Regions from separate parts of the Homo sapiens genome. Here regions 1 and 2 are each linked to region 3. The links are contacts of gene promoters, found by promoter capture Hi-C in blood cells and fetal thymus (Javierre and others, 2016). All regions are on one chromosome and are shown on one strand. Each heading gives the region's core, a stretch centred on a gene start or on the middle of the fragment in contact. The rest is flanking DNA. Distances are from core to core; before and after follow the strand shown. Region 1 overlaps LINC02770 (long intergenic non-protein coding RNA 2770). Region 2 overlaps LINC02770 (long intergenic non-protein coding RNA 2770). Region 3 holds the start of RGS21 (regulator of G protein signaling 21).

Evidence for each region. The method cuts DNA at HindIII sites, captures the fragments that hold promoters and counts their contacts. A CHiCAGO score of 5 or more calls a contact.
Region 1: a contact is called between a fragment that was not itself captured here and the fragment with the promoter of RGS21 in region 3, in 2 of 17 cell types (M0 macrophages and endothelial precursors). The highest score is 5.3, in M0 macrophages.
Region 2: a fragment that was not itself captured here is called in contact with the fragment with the promoter of RGS21 in region 3 in 1 of 17 cell types (neutrophils); the score reaches 6.1 in neutrophils.

What each region holds. Positions count from the first base shown.
Region 1 is chr1:191,979,981-191,982,680 of GRCh38, forward strand. The region is part of intron 9 of LINC02770 (long intergenic non-protein coding RNA 2770); the gene reads left to right. Among named protein-coding and RNA genes, the nearest start is that of RGS18, 180 kb to the right of the region's middle. The HindIII fragment of the contact is 6,034 bases long and covers 1-2,700 here.
Region 2 is chr1:191,907,228-191,909,927 of GRCh38, forward strand. The region is part of intron 5 of LINC02770 (long intergenic non-protein coding RNA 2770); the gene reads left to right. Among named protein-coding and RNA genes, the nearest start is that of LINC02770, 180 kb to the left of the region's middle. The HindIII fragment of the contact is 7,214 bases long and covers 1-2,700 here.
Region 3 is chr1:192,315,675-192,318,374 of GRCh38, forward strand. RGS21 (regulator of G protein signaling 21) reads left to right here and starts at 1,318. Exons shown (of 5, transcript NM_001039152.3): 1 at 1,318-1,431. The HindIII fragment of the contact is 2,232 bases long and covers 803-2,700 here.

The DNA.
Region 1 (2,700 bases), core at 115-2,614, 340 kb before region 3:
AAGTCTTTAATTTATCTTTGGTTGATTTTTGTGTATGGTGAAAGATAAGGGTGCTGTTTCCTTCTTCTACATGTGAATATCCAGTTTTCCCAGAACCATGTGTTGAAGAAAATATCTTTCCCACTGAATGTTCTTTATGCCTCAGTCAAAAATCAGTTGGCTGTAAATACATGTTTTTTTATTTAACTCTAGTCTGTTAAATTGTTCCATGTCTGTTTTTATACCAATACCAAACTGCTTTTCTTTATAGCCTTGTAATATATTTTGAAGTCAGGTAGTGTTATATCTCCAGCTTTGTTCCTTTTGCTCAGAATTGCTTTGGCTATGTGGGGTATTTTTTGGTTCCAATGAACTTTAGGATTTTTTTTATAATTCTGTAAAAAATGATGTTGGCATTTTAATGGATTTTGAATTGAATCTGTAGATTGCTTTGGGATATATGATCATTTTATCAATATTAGTTCTCTAATCCATTTATATCCTCTTCAGTTTCTTTTATTGGTGTTTTATAGTTTTCCTCATGGAGATCTTTCACCGTCTTTATTACATTTATCCCCAGATATTTTATTTTTTAATAGATATTGTAAATGCAATTGCTTTTTTTTCTCAGCTAATTAATTATTGGTGTATACAAATGCTACTGATTTTTCTATGTTGATTTTGTATCCTGCAACTTTACTGAATTTGTTTATCAAATCTAAAAGGTTTACTGGGAAAGTCTATAGGTTTTTCTAGATACAAGATTATATAATTAGCAAAGAAGGACAATTTGACTTTCAGTTTTTCCCCATTTAGTATGATATTGACTGTGGGTTTGTTATATGTGGCCTTTCTTATGTTGAATATGTTCCTTCTATGTCTAGTTTGTTGAGACTTTTAATTATAAAGAGATGTTAAATCTTATCAAGTGCTTTTCTGTATCTATTGAGAAGATCATACTGATTTTGCCCTTGATTCTGTTGATGTGGTTTATCACATTTATTGATTTGTGTATGTTGAAACATCCTTGCATCCTGGGATAAATCCTACTTGATCATGATGTATTATAGTTTTGATGTGCTGTTAGATTCAATTTTTTAGTATTTTCTTGAGGACTTTTGCATATATGTTTGTCAAGAATATGAGCTTTCAGTTTTCTTTTCTTTTCTTTTTTTTTTTTTTTGTTCTTGCATCTTAGTGTGGTTTTGGTATCAGATTAATGCTGGCCTGGTAGACTAAGTTAGAGAGAATTCCCTCCTCTTGAGTTTTTTGAAATAATTGAGGAGAAGTAATTTTCTTGGTCATCTAGAAAGTAGGTTATCCATTTTGTTTACCTTTAAAAATGCATTTTTGTTTTACTATCTCTTCTATGTTTTGGCGGGTGAGGGTTCTAATTTTCTGTCTATGTGTTCTGTCTAATGCTGACAGTATGGTGTTGAAGTCCCCAAATATTACTGTATTTGAGCCTATCTCTCCCTTTAAATCTAGTAATATTTGCTTTATATATTTGAGTGTTCTGTGTTGGGTAAATATGTTTAGAATTGTTACATCCTCTTGCCGAATTGATCCTTTTATCATTTTATAATTTTTTGTCTCTTTTTACTGTTTTTGACTTAAAGTCTATTTTATCTAACTTAAGTATGACTACTCATGCTCAATTTTGATTTCCATTTTAAAATATTTCTTTTTTCATCTTATTACTTTAGGTTATATATGTCTACAAATATGACGAGGTTTCTTGTAGGCAGCATATAGTTGGGTCCTTTTTTAATCCATTCAGCTAGTCTATATCTTTAAATCAAAAGTTTAATGTAGTTTACATTCAAGGTTATTATTGATATGCAGGAGCTTATTGTTAGCATTGTATTAATTGATTTCTGGTTGTTTTGGATAGCCTTTTTCTTTTTCTCTTATCATTTATTATTGTGATTTGGTGGTCTTCTGTAGTGGTAACTTTTGAGACTTTTCCTATATTTGGATATCTGTATTTCTTGCTAGTCCTGGAAAGTTGTCAGTATTATTTCTCTCACTAAGTTTTCTATCATTTTCATTTTCTCTTTGCCTTCTGGGACACCAAAAGTTCAAAGATTGTGTTGCTTTATGGTGTTCCATATGTTACATATGCTGTGTTCATTTTTTTAAAACTCCTTATTTCAAATTTTTGTCTTGGTTATCTCAAAGGACTGGCCTTCAAATCCTGAGATACTTCTGCTGGATTTAGTCAGTTTTTGAGGCTTTTGAATATATTTTGTATTTCATTCAATGAATTCTTCAGTTCCAGATTTCCATTTGGTTCATAATGTTTATCTCTTTGTCAAATTTCTTACTCTACCCTGGATTGCTTTTCTGATTTAATTATATGGTTTATTATTATGTACTTTCTGAGCTTCTTCAATATTATATTTTAAAATCTTTTTCTATGATTTCATAAGCCATATTTCCTTACTTTTTTATGTTGCTTGTATTCTTAGGTTGATATCTGTGCATGTGTTACAGTCACTCTTTCCTATTTTTAAAGTAACTTTCCTAAGGGAAGACATTTTCCTAAAGTTATATCTATGATGTTTGTTGGGTTGGACACTTTGGATTTGATCCTGAGTGCATGCATTAATGTCATTAGTGTGTGATTTCTTCAGCTATAAACAACATCAATTGTATCTGTGATTTCCTCAGTGGCTTATGGTACAGTTATTGGAGGGTTTGGTGAAGTTTTGCTGGGGA
Region 2 (2,700 bases), core at 134-2,633, 410 kb before region 3:
ACTGCAACTAAATTACAGAGCTTCGTATGGCATGCCCCTAGCATCAGCCTCACACAGTTGTGGGTCTTTGACACACACTGGTAAAGTTCTGCAATGAACTGTGCTTATTAGAGCCCACCAGGAAGGCGAGCTTCTTAGTATAATTAGCTCCCCTGAGAACAATGGCTGCCTTCACAGCTGGAAAACTAGAAGAAATTTATTCTAAAGTATGGGAAGCACTGAAAAGGCACCTGTAATTAAATTTCCTTTTCTGCTTCTTTCTTTTCTTTCTTTCTTTCTTTCTTTCTTTCTTTCTTTCTTTCTTTCTTTCTTTCTTTCTTTCTTTCTCTTTCTTTCTTTCTTTCCTTCCTTCCTTCCTTTCTTTCTTTCTCTCTTTCTCTCTCTTTCTTTCTTCTTTCTTTGTTTCTTCTTTCCATATTTATAGTTTAAGGTTTTTTTTTTAGTTTTTCTCCATCTTGATTAACAAAATATAATTGTAATATTTGTTAATTATGAATATTACTTGCTGAAGGTCATGTCTTCAATTGCTATATGACTTTAATAATGTTTTCCTCTTTCAGTGCAGGTTTAGTAGAGAAATACACACACACACATACGCATAAGACTTGTGAGAAATAAACAGTTTAGAATCTTTACTGTGTAGACAAAATGTTTGAATAACTACATTAGTCTGTTTTTGCATTGCTGAAAAAACTACCTGAGACTAGGAGATTTGTAAACAAAAGAGGATTAACTGACTCACAGTTCTGCATGGCTGAGGAGGCCTCGGGAAACTAACAATCATGGTGGAAGGAGAAGGGGAAACAAGGCATGTCTTACATGGCAGCAGGAGAGAGAGAGCAAGGGGGGAACTGAAAAACACTTTTTAACCATCAGATCACATGAAAACTCACTCACTATTGTGAGAACAGCATGGGGGAAACCACCCCCATAATCTAATCACCTCCCACCAGTTTCCTCCCAGGACACATGGAGTTTACAATTCAAGATGAGATTTGGTTGAGGACACAGAGCCAAACCATGTTATTCTGCCCCAGCTCCTCCCAAATCAGATATAATGCTCACATTTCAAAACACAATTATGCCTTCCCAACAGTCCCGCAAAGTCTTAACTAATTTCAGCATTAAACCAAAAGTCCAAGTCGAAAGTCTCACTTGAAACAAGGGAAGGCCCTTCCACCTGTGAGCCTCTAAAATCAAAAGTATGTTAGTTACTTCTAAGGTACAATGGGTGTACAGGCATTGAGTAATGCTCCTGTTCCAAAAGGGAGAAATTGGTCAAAACAAATGGGCTACAGGCCCCATACAAGTCGGAAAACCTACAGGGCAGTTATTAAATCCAAAACATCAAAAAAATCTCCTTTGACCTCATGTCTAAAACCCAGGACTTGCTGATGCAAGAGGTGGGCTCCCAAGGCCTGGGGCAGCTCTGCTTTTGTGGTTCTACAGGGTACAATCCCTGCACCTGCTTTCATGGGCTGTTGTTGAATGTTTGTGACTTTTCCAGTATCACTGTGCAAGCCATGGTGGATCTACCATTCTGGGGTCTGCAGGATGGTGGCCCTCTTCTCACAGATCCACTAGGCAGTGGCCCAGTGGATGCTCTGTGTTGGGAGCTCCAACCCAACTTTTCTCTTCTGCATTGCACTAGGTTCTCCATAACGGCTTCATCCCTGCAACAGACTTCTGCCTGGACATCCAGGCCTTTCCATACATCCTCTGCAATTTAGGTGGAGGCTCCCAAAGCTCATCTCTTGTGTTCTGCACACCTGCAGGCCCAACACCACATGGAAGCTACCAAGGCTTGGGGCTTGCAACCTCTGAAGCAATGGCTAAAGCTGTACCTTGGCTCTTTATAGCCACAGCTGGAGCTGGAGTGGCTAAGACAAAGGGCACCCTGTCCCCAAGCTGCACAGAGCAGCAGGGCCCTGAGCCCAGCCCATGAAAACATTTTTCCCTCCTAGGTCTTTGGGCCTGTGATGGAACAGTGTATTAGTTCAGTCTTACAGTACTATAAAGAACTATTGAGACTAGATAATTTATTTTTTAAAAAAGAGGTTTAATTGACACAGAGTTCTGCATGACTGGGGAGTCCTCAGGAAATTTGCAATTATGGCAGAAGGAGAAGCAGATACTTCTCACATGGTGGCAGGTGAGAGAGAACAAAAAGCCCAGGGGGAACTGCCATTTATAAAACCATCAGATCTTGTGAGAACTCCCTCACTATCACAAGAACAGCATGGGGAAAACTGCTGCCATCATTCAATCACCTCCCACCAGGTCCCTCACTCGAAACATGGGGATTAAGGGCATTACAATTACAAATTGGGATTTGGGTGGGGATTCAGCCAAACCATATTATTCCTCCCCAAGCTCTCCCAAATCTTATGTCCTCACTTTTCAAAACCAATCATGCCTTCCCAACAGTCCCCCAGTCTTAAGTCATATCAGAATTAACCTAAAATCCAAATCCAAAGTTTCATCTGAGACAAGGCAAGTCCCTTCTGCCTATGAGCCTGTCAAATCAAAGGCAATTTAGATACTTCCAAGATACAATGGAAGTGCAGGTATTGGATAAATGTCCCCATTACAATGGGAGAAATTGGCCAAAACAAAGGGGCTACAGCCCCCATTCAAGTTCAAAATCCAACAGGCAGTCATTACATCTTAAAGCTCCAAAATTATCATCTTTAACTCCAT
Region 3 (2,700 bases), core at 68-2,567:
TTACACAGTATCAGCATTTCCCTTTGATTTATTAATTCTGAGAAATTGATCAAGATTTCTATGTGAATGTTTCTTCTCATGAAGCTTACATTTCTTCAGTCATTGTGTGTAGCACAAGAGGGACATTAAGTATACACACTGAGACAAAAAGAAAATAAATAACCTAACTTTCAAAATTGTTTGGGTAAAGCTAACAATTATGCTAAATATTTTCCTTTATAGATGTATCACATTTCAAATACTACATACATAGCATATATTTAACGGAGTTTAGTAAAATATCAAGTAAAACTACTTAGTAAAGCAATATATTTCTCCCTGTAATAATACTTAAACACATTTGAGGCTATGTGAGTAGTAAAGAGTTAATTATTTGCACTAAAACCCAAAGGTCCAGAGTTAAAATGTGACAATCTATTGAAGTTTTTGATATGCCAGTGTTACAGCATAGAAAACAAAACATATTCAATAAATTAATCATTAATGCATCTAGATCGTAAAATAGGATGTGCATTAAAATGCTCTCACCGCAACAGCTGATGTTTCATTGATACAGGAAAGGCTCAAATAATCTGGACAGATGAAGTGGTTGTATAATATTTTCCTCCTTCGCCACTTCAAGTATATCTGTCCAATTTTAGGCCCATTACTTTAAAAAAGAGAGCATAGTTTGATAATTTCCCTTCATTATCTGCTTGACTTGATAAAGATGTTGTTCATACATTAAAAGTTGCGCCTTGATTAGCTGAAATCATAAAATAATAGTATGTAGCTTTTAAGTATTTTAAGTGTCTTCCACATAAGCTTTGAATCATTGAAACTAAAGGCTATAATCTGGGCAGATGCGAAACTAAAGACAAATTTCCTATGCAAACATGTATACCATATGAAAGCCATGCAAATACTGCCTTCAGAAGAAAAACAAAGGCTTGTTTTATTTTTTTCCCTCAAACTGAGCTACTTTATCAGAGTACAATTGCAAAGTAAAGATTTACATATTTTTGACTGAAAAAATAATTTCCATACCACATGTATGTGACTTCACAATGTGAAGATTTTAGGACACTGACACAAATAGGTACCAGGTCATTAAAAAAAGAGACTCAGATAGTCGGAGTTACTGTTACATTTATTATGTATTTAATAGAAACACCACCAAAATTCTTCAAATTAAAACTAACTACAATCTAAATATCTTGATTATGGAATGGATTCAATGGTGTTTAGATATTAAACTTAACCTCAAAAATAATGTGGTTATATGAAGATTGTGTAGAAAAGAAAAACATATGGTAGAGAGTATGTTAATATAGAAAAGTTACCACTTGGAAAACAATTCATCTGAAAGAAGCACAGATTTTCTCATCTATCCTGTCAACAAAGAAGGAATCAAGAGAGCAAGGACAGTGATTTCCCCTGCATTGCATTTGTGTGAGTATAAAGAGATTTAAGGTTTATTATATAAATGAACTTGTTACAAAGATTAAACTGATGACATTTAGAGATAAAAATGCCAACTATTAGATTCTTTTCATCAAACTCAGCGAGTTTGGAATCATAAAAAGAAAAAATTTTACTAGCTATTCATTTGGTAACATTTGCAGAAAATAATATATTATCACAGATTGTCAAAGAACTGACACTTTGCCAACTAGTCTGCTTCAAATTTGTAAAAAAGATGAACAAAGGATATCAGACTCCACGGGAGGGGAGAGAAAAAGACAAGAGATAGGATTATAGAACCCATAGAATTTTAAAGCTAGAAGAAATGTAAAAAAAAAAAATCTATCTCATACTTTTCTTATATCCTTTTGGAAAAGCAACTAGAACAAGTAATAATAACATCTTTCTCAAGGACACACAGCAGGTGGCCAATTACCATACCTGAAAGTAATGAATTATATAAATAAAGAAAATGTGAGAAAGATGTTACATACAGCATAGAAAAGCACATTAAATATAATATTACTATTTTTATGTCTTTACTTATATATGGTTAAATGACTTGAGTAGAACTTGATAGGATAAAAGCACTACTTCAACAATGTTTACAGTTTTAAAGATATATTTCAGTTAGTACTTTCACTATTCTTCAAATTTTATTTTTAAAATAATTTTGAAAAATGCATCTTCATGTCACTCTAAGTAAAGTCTTATTAACTTATAACTTATATTAAGTTCTTTAAAATTAGTTTATATAATTTTAGTTTGTAATTTCATAAAATTTTTAGTCAACATGTGCATTCACAACTCAAGATGAAATGGTTGTTACTTTGTTTTGGCATTTACTAGTACATGTATTATAGTATATGTATAACATATTAGTGGTTTGTACCATGCCCTAAAACTTATGACACCAAATGCTGGCAACTCTTTCTCCTGCTTTCTAAAATGTATTATAGTCTAAAATATTAGTAAATATTAATATATTCATCGTATAATTGCCTTTTTAAGAAATCAATATCCTGTTATTTTTAGACAATGTCAAAATATTGCATTATCTAAAAAAAACCTAGTCATTAAACTTAGAAATGTCAAGTACACCTGTGAATTTGTTAAGGGGACACTATAATTTTCTATTTGATTTGAAAATAAATCAAGCAGCCACAGCATTCTCGAAGTAACACTATTAATTACTTCTGCTAATTGCCTCTGTGCAATTGGGAAAGAAGTAAAGCAATCTCCTCTGGTTTGATTTGA